Regions from separate parts of the Homo sapiens genome. Here region 1 is linked to region 2. The links are contacts of gene promoters, found by promoter capture Hi-C in blood cells and fetal thymus (Javierre and others, 2016). All regions are on one chromosome and are shown on one strand. Each heading gives the region's core, a stretch centred on a gene start or on the middle of the fragment in contact. The rest is flanking DNA. Distances are from core to core; before and after follow the strand shown.

Evidence for each region. The method cuts DNA at HindIII sites, captures the fragments that hold promoters and counts their contacts. A CHiCAGO score of 5 or more calls a contact.
Region 1: the fragment with the promoter of MAST1 here is called in contact with the fragment with the promoter of S1PR5 in region 2 in 1 of 17 cell types (total CD4 T cells); the score reaches 6.1 in total CD4 T cells.

What each region holds. Positions count from the first base shown.
Region 1 is chr19:12,836,744-12,841,078 of GRCh38, forward strand. MAST1 (microtubule associated serine/threonine kinase 1) reads left to right here and starts at 1,772. Exons shown (of 26, transcript NM_014975.3): 1 at 1,772-1,912; 2 at 3,703-3,791; 3 at 4,248-4,323. The coding sequence starts at 1,830. RefSeq lists silencers at 1,385-1,568, 1,573-1,752, 1,803-1,852 and an enhancer at 3,759-3,818. The HindIII fragment of the contact is 9,607 bases long and covers 723-4,335 here.
Region 2 is chr19:10,514,377-10,518,992 of GRCh38, forward strand. It overlaps S1PR5 (sphingosine-1-phosphate receptor 5), which reads right to left and starts at 3,071. Exons shown (of 2, transcript NM_030760.5): 1 at 3,022-3,071; 2 at 1-653. The coding sequence starts at 635. RefSeq lists enhancers at 361-954, 955-1,548, 4,416-4,616. The HindIII fragment of the contact is 9,669 bases long and covers 1,889-4,616 here.

The sequences.
Region 1 (4,335 bases), core at 522-3,021, 2.3 Mb after region 2:
CCAAGGTCATAAAAAGCAGAATTGAGATTTGAACCTAGGCTTTTTGCTTTTAGAGATCCTAGAAATGTCTAGGACATCCCTCATTTTCCTTTTGTTGGAGTCCCCTCCAAAGGCCTTTTGAAACTCTCCCCCAAATCTTTCCACCTGCAGCCCCACTCAGTTTCCTTCCTTCCACCTCACCCTGTGGATAGAAAACTGGCTGGCAGGTGTTGCCCCTTGTACCCCATTCCTTTCCTCAGAAAAAAGCCAAGACCCCATATCTCCTGATCCCTACAGTGACTTCCTAAGAGCTTGACAAATGGAAGGTGACCTTCTTCAAATGCAGACACATAAAGTTAATACTCACTAATTATTATTATTGTCATTATAAAAAATGACTATGCGGCCATCACCTGAATTTCCATTTTTATTTTTTTATTTTTTAAACTTTTTATTATTTATTTATTTATTGTTAATTGAGAGGGTGTCTTACTCCAGCAGTGGTGCAATCATAGTTCACTATAACCTCGACCTCCTGAGCTCAAGAGATTCTCCCACCTCAGCCTCCGTGGTTCCCATTTTAAATCTCAGTTGTGAGTCACTCTACTTACCTACCCCCCACCCCCTACCCCAACTCTATGACTCTAGCTGGGAGTCAGATAGATCTGCTGAGGTGTAGATGAGTCATTCATTCTTTCAACCTTTCATTCATTCAACCTTTCATTCATTCATTGAGTACGCTAAGCTTATTCCCGCCTCCAGGCCTTTGCCCTTGCAGTTCCCTCCACCTGGAATGCTCTCTCCACAGATCCTCCCATGGCTGGCTCTTATCTTTCAGCAACCAGCTTAAAAGTCACCTCCACAGAGCAGCCCTGTCTGACAATGTGTCTCCATCCTAGCCATTGTCCATCACATCACCCTGTTTAATTTATTCATAAGACTAATTATTGTCTAAAATGATTTCGTTCACTTCTACACTAATCTTGTTTAATGTCCCCTTTACCCTATAAATACTAGTCCCAAAAGGCCAGAAACTTTTTTTTTTTTCTCCTTGAGACAGAGAGTCTTGCTGTGTTGCCCACGCTGGTGTTTCCTTGGACTCAAGCGATTCTCCTGCCTCAACCTCCCAAGTAGCTGGGACTAGAGGTGCACACCACCACACCGGACTTGTAATTTATTCACTACTGTGTCCCTAGTGCCTAGGATTGGGTCAGCATACAGTAGGTGCTCAAGACATATTTTTCAAATAATGATTCCTATTTCATTTGCACAAACACACGCTGATATGCCAACTCACTTGCCTTTATATGGCGCCCCGCCTGTGTACGTGGGCCTCTGTTGGTCTCTGAGGGTCAGGAGAGGAATCACCCAGGGATCCTCTCCCCCAAGAAACTTGGCCCGCAGTGCATGGCCAAGGGTGAAAGTGACAGTGCTGAAGAGGGGCCTGTCTTACCCTGCTTCTGCTCCTCCAGGGAGTTGATAATGCTTGTGGGCAGCAACGGCAGGTCCACGCTGACCTTCATCGTTTTGCCCCTTTGCCTTCCAGAAGGATTTGCCCCTGCCCCGGAAAAGCAGCAGGTGAGCCTGGGGAGAGACGTGGCGGGGGCTGGCCGCCCCTTCTCCCGCCGGGGTGGGGGCGCCAGGCGAGTGCGCGGGCGGGGCCTGGCTCGCCGGCACGCAGCAGCGCCCCCTCCCGGCCGGCTGCAGCCGCAGGGCCCTCCCCTTCCCTGCCCTCCCCTGCCCGCTGCGGCGGCTGCAGCCTCCGCCCCGCGCGCTTGCTCCCCGCGCCGCCGCCGCCGCCGCCTCCGCCGCTGCTGCCGCACCTGCCACCATGTCGCCGCCGCCGGGTCATGTCTGACTCTCTCTGGACCGCGCTTTCTAATTTCTCGATGCCCTCCTTCCCCGGCGGCAGTATGTTCCGCCGCACCAAGAGGTAGACCCCCGATCCCCTAGACATTGTCCCGGCCCTCCCCGCAAAAGCCGCCGCTCCGGGTACTGCTGCAGGGCGGGGCCCGGGATGCTGCGCCCGGTCCAGCTGCGCCAGAGGTGCCCCAGCTGCGCCTTCCCGCCGGGGTTGGGGTTGAATGGGGGGTGGTGTGGGCCGAGTCTGGGGGGCTTGCACGCTGGAGAGGACGGCCGCGGGGGGAGGGGGCTGCGCCACTGGGGGTTTGTGGCGCCTTTGTCTGCTGGCGCTGCGGGCTCCAACAGCCTGGTGGGGGTAGAGGAAGAAGGGGAGGCTGGGGGGCTTGGCACCCTCAGAACAATAGCCGCAGCCTGGCCTCCCCCCACCCCCATGCCGCGTGCTCCTGGACGCGCTAATATGCTCAGTCACTGCGGCTGTGGGTGAGGGGACGGACGGAGGGGCTTGGGGCTCCCTCTTCGGGAGCTGGATGCTGAGGGGTAGAAAAAAGGGGGGGTTTATCATAACACAACCCCCCCCCCCGAACACAGCCTTACACTGAAAATAGTGACACACAGCGTCACACAGGACATGATGTCACACACATACACACAACAGCCCTAGTGGCCCAGATACACTGGGAGGTGCCACACATACCTAGCCTTGCAGCTGCCACAGGTCAGAACCATGCACAGACACACAGGGGCACCACGTCGTGTACACCTAGTAAGATGTCACTTACATGGCGATCCACACACACACAGTTATGTCATCCAAGATGCAAACATGTGTTTCAATATCCCATCCATGCATCCAAGAATGTCACAACACACGATGTCATATCTAGGTATCTCACATACTATGTCACACTGACATCAGGATAAACAGATGTAGGGATCTTGCAGAGACAGAACCACGCAAAATCACATGTTATCACATTGCAAGACTCACCTAGAGAATGTCAAATGTGGTGACATGTTTGGACACAGTGTCACAAGATGTTAAATTCACACAATAGATGCTACATACACATGGACAAGCATGGTGAATGTCACACCCAGACGGAAGGACAGTATCGGACACAGACTCAGAATGCCACACAAAGACATAGATACATGTAGGGGGGATCATGCATCCTGGCCAGGCATGGTGGCAGGCACCTGTAGTCCCAGCTACTCAGGAGGGTGAGGTGAGGCGGGAGGATTGCTTGAGCCCAGGAGTTTGAGGCTGCAGTGAGCCACTGCACACTGCACTCCAGCCGGGCGACAGAGCGAGACATTGATTTAAAAGAAAAAAAATAATAATAATACAACCTGCCTGTGTTACAGCACACATTGTTATGGACAAGTGGCATTTCACACTGTGTCACATAGACACACAAATGCTCAAATTGTATCACACAAGATAAACCCACGTTGTGTCACACGTATCACACTAGAATGCATTCAGCGTCACACATTGTTGAATTCATACAGTGGATACCACACGTGGATACCTACAGTGAATGTCACGCATAGACTGAGACACGCTCAGTATCACCAATGGTGTCACCTAGACACAGTGACTATCACACCATGACAGACACTGCCCTACACATAATCCATACTGAGAGTTTCTCACACACATGTCATATGCACATCCCCTGCCGTACACAGTCCTGCCGAGGCCTGCACCACCTTTCTTCGAGAAACCCTCCCAGGGAGCCTCCAAACACACATGGATGGGAGATAGGCGGGGATCTGAGACAGGAGGTCAGCTGGTGGGGCTCAAGAACTCACTGGGCTGCGGCCCGGCCCGGCCCCCCTGCCTTACCTTCCCCGCAGCTGCCGCACCAGTAATCGGAAAAGCCTCATCCTGACCAGCACTTCACCCACGCTACCGAGACCCCACTCCCCGCTGCCAGGTCACCTAGGTGAGGCCAGTGGTAGAGACTTGGTGGGTGCAGACTGGCCTACAGTAGGCGGGGCCTCAGGCGAGGAAGCGTGGTCATGCTACAGAAGGGGCGCAGTTTGAATGGAGGCGAACCAGTTTGGATAAGGGGCGGGGCCATGCTTGTGTGGGTGTGGTCAGTCGCAGAGGGACGGTCATTGGGGGGCGGAGACTCAGGTGGGCGGAGACTCAGGTGGGACGGACAGAAAGGAGGAGTCGTACCTGAGGGGCGGGGCCATCCCAGATGAAGCCAGAATCGTCTTGGAAGGGGCCAGGCTGACTCGGCAACGAAAAAATTTAGAGAGGCGGGGCCACAGGCGAAGGGGCGTGGTCTCCCCATAATAGGCGGGACTAGACTAAAGACAGGACATGCTGCTGTTTGCACGCCGCTTTAGGGAACGAGAGACCTGACAGGATTTGCCCCCTCTTTCTCTCATAGGCAGCAGTCCCCTGGACAGCCCCCGAAACTTCTCCCCCAACACCCCCGCCCACTTCTCGTTTGCCTCCTCCCGAAGGTGAGTCCCTCC
Region 2 (4,616 bases), core at 1,821-4,320:
TAGAGTGCACAGATAGCGGCCAGGATGCCCACGAAGGCGAGCACGCAGAAGAGCACGTAGGCCTTGGCGTAGAGCGGCAAGACAGTGGAGCAAGCGTCCAGGCGACCCAGGCAATTCCAGCCCAGCGCTGGCAGGAGCCCGAGGAGCAGCGACACGCCCCAGGCCGCGGCTGCCATCGCCAGCGTGCGCCCCCGACTGGAGACGGGCGCGGGCCCCCTGCGCGCCATGGTGAGGCTGCGCTCCAGCGCGATGGCCAGGAGGCTCAGCACGGACGCAGTGAGTGCCACGAAGACGCCTCCCTCCCGTGCGAACCAGAGCGCGGGGGACAGTTTCAGCGTGAGCGGCCCCGACAGTAGGATGTTGGCGGCGTAGGCGGCGCCTGCCAGCAGATCCGACAACGTGAGGCTGCCCAGGAGCAGGAACATGGGAGCGTGGAAGCGCGGGTGGCGTCCGAGCACCAACAACACGGCTAGATTCTCTAGCACGATGAAGGCGCACACCGCCAGGCACACCACGGCGTCGGCGCGCAGGCCGGCACCCGGCTGGTAGCGCGCACCGCGGAGCTTGCCGGTGTAGTTGTAATGCAGGACGATGACCTCGCTCACCGGCGCCGGCCGCAGCAGCCCCGACTCCATGGGCCGCGCGCCCCAAGGCTGTTGGAGAGGCAAGATACGGTGTCAGGCCGCGGTCCCCGTAAGCACGCTCGCAGCAGCCGGCTAAGTCGTGGGAAAGGGGCCCTACCCACTGACCATCACCCCCTATACATGGTGTCCAAGGGGGAGTTCAGGATGGAGGGATAGAGTCCGTGGAGACAGACATACACACAAATAATATCACGAGGGAACAAGGTGACATAGTCCCAAAAAAAGGGACATTAATAACACATGAATGGCTGGGCGCGGTGGTTCACACATGGCTGGGCGCGGTGGCTCAGGCCTGTAATCCCCGCCTGTAATCCCCCCAGGCTCAGGCCTGAGGCAGTGGCTCAGGCCTGGGAGGCCAAGGGGGGCAGATCACGAGGTCAGGAGATCGAGACCATCCTGGCTAACACGGTGAACCCCTCCGTCTCTGCTAAAAACACAAAAAATTAGCCAGGCATGGTGGCACGTGCCTGTAGTCCCAGCTACTCCAGAGGCTGAGGCAGAAGAATCATTTGAACCCAGGAGGCGGAGGTTGCAGTGAGCCGAGATCGCATCACTGCACTCCAACCTAGGTGGCAGAGCGAGACTCTGTCTCAAAACACCCCCCCTCCCCACCAAACACACACACGGCTGGGTGTGGTGGCTCACTCCTGTAATTCCAGCACTTTGGGAGGCTGAGGCGGGAGGATTGTTTGAGGCCCAGGAGTTCGAGATTAGCCTGGACAACATAGGAGAACCCCGTTTCTACAAAAATTAGCCGGGACGTGTTGGTGTATGCCTATAGTCCAAGCTACTCAGTGGAGTCCCAGCTGAGGTGAGAGGATCACTTGAGCCCGCGGGGTCAAGGCTGCAGTCAGTGAGCATTGATTGTGCCACTGTACTCCAGCCAGGACAACAGAGCAAGACTTTGTCTCAAACACACACACACAAACACACAAGCAGGGAGTTCCAGAGACGTAACAGTAAACACACAGAACGCACACAAACGCAACACACACAGAAAGAGACACACAAATACAGCGACACACTACAAGGGCAAAACACACAGTCACACACTATCAGGGAAACTAAAAAATACATCATACAGGAACAGAGTGACGCAGGCAGAAAAACACAGCGACCAAAATTCAGTCACACGAATACAGGGTCTCCCACCCAGTGGCACAGGCCACAATTTCACAACCTCCACTCACACTAGCCTGGGGCCCAGTGCACCACACTCCACACTCTTGTCTCACTGCATACAAAGCTTTTTCCTGCCAAAACCCCCTCATCCACCCAAAACCCCATGAGAAAGTTGCTCCTTGGCCAGGCACAGTGGCTTTCGCCTGTAATCCCAGCACTTTGGGAGGCCGAGGTGGGAGTATCACTTGAGCCCAGGAGTTCGACACCAGCTTGGGCAACATACTAAGACTTCATCTCTACAAAAAAATTTAAAAATTAGCCAGGTGTGGTGTTATGCCCCTATAGTCCCAGCTACTCAAGAGACTGAGGCGGGAGGATCACTTGAGCCTGGGAGGCCGAGGCTGCAGTGAGCCATGATCGCACCCCTGCTCTCCAGCCTGGGTGACAAGAGAGAAACTCCGTCTCAAAAAAAAAAAAAAAAAAAAAAGTTGATCCTATTCACTCATTTTACTAAGGCAGAGCCTGAGGACAGGAGAGAGAATCCACAAGAGGCAAACAGACTCTTACAGAGGGGCACACATGTCATTAAACTGTAATAACACTCCTCACCTGCCTCTGTGACCTTATTAATCCCCACTTCCTTTAGTCCTAATTTACAGATGAGAAAACTGAAGCTCAAAAGAAATGCTTCGTATCGAAGCAGGCGCAAAGGTTTCCATGCTCCCACACAAACATCCATGCACAAATAGTCCCCATGCAAGTCCAGATGAGAAAGCCAAGGCCTGGGGAGGGGAATGGATCTCTTTTGCACAAGGCAGGGATGCGGACATCCCAGAGAGCTTCAGTCACACACAGAGAATCAAGGCAGGCAAACATAGACAGGAAGTCGCTGGCTCACCCATGCTGGAGGTGGGGAGCCCAAATACAGGGAGACAGGGTTACACATGCTCTGAGGGGGAGGCCAACCCCATCCGCCCAGCTTGCCCGGCAGCAGGACTGAAGTATGGAAACTTGCAGTGGCCCGGCCAGGAGGGGGTGGCCAGGGGATTCCAGCCACCTTCACCCCGTATCCCAGGTCCTGCACCCAGCTGGGGAGCCCCCAGCTTCCCCCTCCCCAGAGGCCTCCAGGAAAAGTTCGGAGAACTCCCTGCAAGGAGTGGTGCGCCTTTTTAGACCGGGAAAGTGGCCGCCAGGGCGACCCCCTCCGGGTCAGGCCCAGCCCAGCGCCCCCAAAGGTCCAGTGCAGTCCACTCACTCTGCGCCCTGGTCGTGCGCCACCCGCAGTCGCGCTGCCTTGAACCGAGTGAGCGGACGCCGCTCCGGGGGCGGGGCTGGAGCTGGCAGGCGAGGGGGCGGGCCAGCGACGCAAAGGGCCGGCGGTCGCCAGCAGTTGCCCCCTCCCCTTGGGTCCCGGGCACTCAGCCCATGGCTGCCAGCCTGTGCCACTCGCCGCGGCACCGGAGCGCGCCCCGGCGGCGACTGGCACAGGCGAGCCCTCAGCTGCCCCCTCCGGGCCTGGGCTGTCCTCCCAGGGACGCTCCATCGCGGTGGGAGGACTCGGAGAGGCGGGAAAGGGAGGGTTCTGCAGCAGGGCGGTCGCAGCCTGAGCCTCTTCTCCCCAGCGGAGGGGTCTCCTCTGTCCTGGGTGTCCGGGCACTGCGCCCTCCCATTGCCCACCCACCTGTGAACTGAGCTTCCTGGGCTGCACCCCAAGGACGCCCCGTCGATGATTCGGAGGGGTCTTCAGTGGGTTGCTTAGCAGGAGTCTTCAGTGGGGGCCACCTTAGCCTGAGTCCTCTCCCACCAGCAGATAGGTTCCCGCTGCTCCCGGGCACAGGCCCCTCCCAATTTCCCGCTCCCGCCCCCGGCTCAGGGCGAGTGGGGGTGGGGCGGGCCCGGGCAGGATTGTGATGGGAACTTGCCGCTCCTCAGATAAGGAGGGTCTCTCCTGTCCCACCCCCTGGATTCCGTGTTCCCCCGACCGATTCTCTCCCACCCTTATCGCTGACGACAAAGTGATTTACTCATTAATGGTGTTTCTGGGCTGTGTCCTTAGCAGACAGTAAACCCCAGCAATGTAAGAATTTCTTTTTTTTTTTTTTTTTTGAGACAAGATCTTGCTCTGTGGCCCAGAGTGGAGTGCAGTGGCAACATCATAAGTCACTGCAGTCTCGACCTCCGCGGCTCAAGCCATCCTCCCATCTCAGCCGGCTGAACGTAGCTGCTGGGACTCCAGTCGCTTGCAACCATGCCCAGATAATGAATGAGTGTCTCCCTCACTTCCTCTGTATCTCTCTCAGGAGGATCTCAGAGTCTCTCGCCTGCGTGTCTCTTTGTCTCTGCGTGTCTCTTTGCCTCTGCGTGTCTCTTTGTTGCTGTCTGTGATGCTCTCCCACGCCTCTCCCAGGCCACTGCTCCTCCAACGACCAGTCCCGCTGGCCCCGAAACGCCCCCACCCCGACTTCCCAGGAACTTCCAGACGGTCCCAGCTCTTCCACCCTCAGATTCAGGAAGGGAGGCTGGGTCCCGCTGCTGCGACCTTCTCCAGGACCGTGCCCTTTGCCCCTGATGCTTCAGGCCCTGCTGGCCGCGGGTGGGGTGAGGGCGCCCCAGGAGAGATGAGCCAGAGGCTGAGAATAAGTGTGGATCCGGGATACCCTCGTGGGAGGAAACTCAGGGGGCACTCAGGCCGGGTCAGGCCCCCATGTAGCCCCTTGGGGATCCCAGCCCTCCTGCCCCCGCTGTTCCCTCGGTGGGCAGAACCTTTCCTGCCTGCTCTGCTCAAAGACACAGCCAATGGGACCCGCAGGGTGGGACGGTGTTAACCCTTCAGTGCCAGGTTCCCCAGTC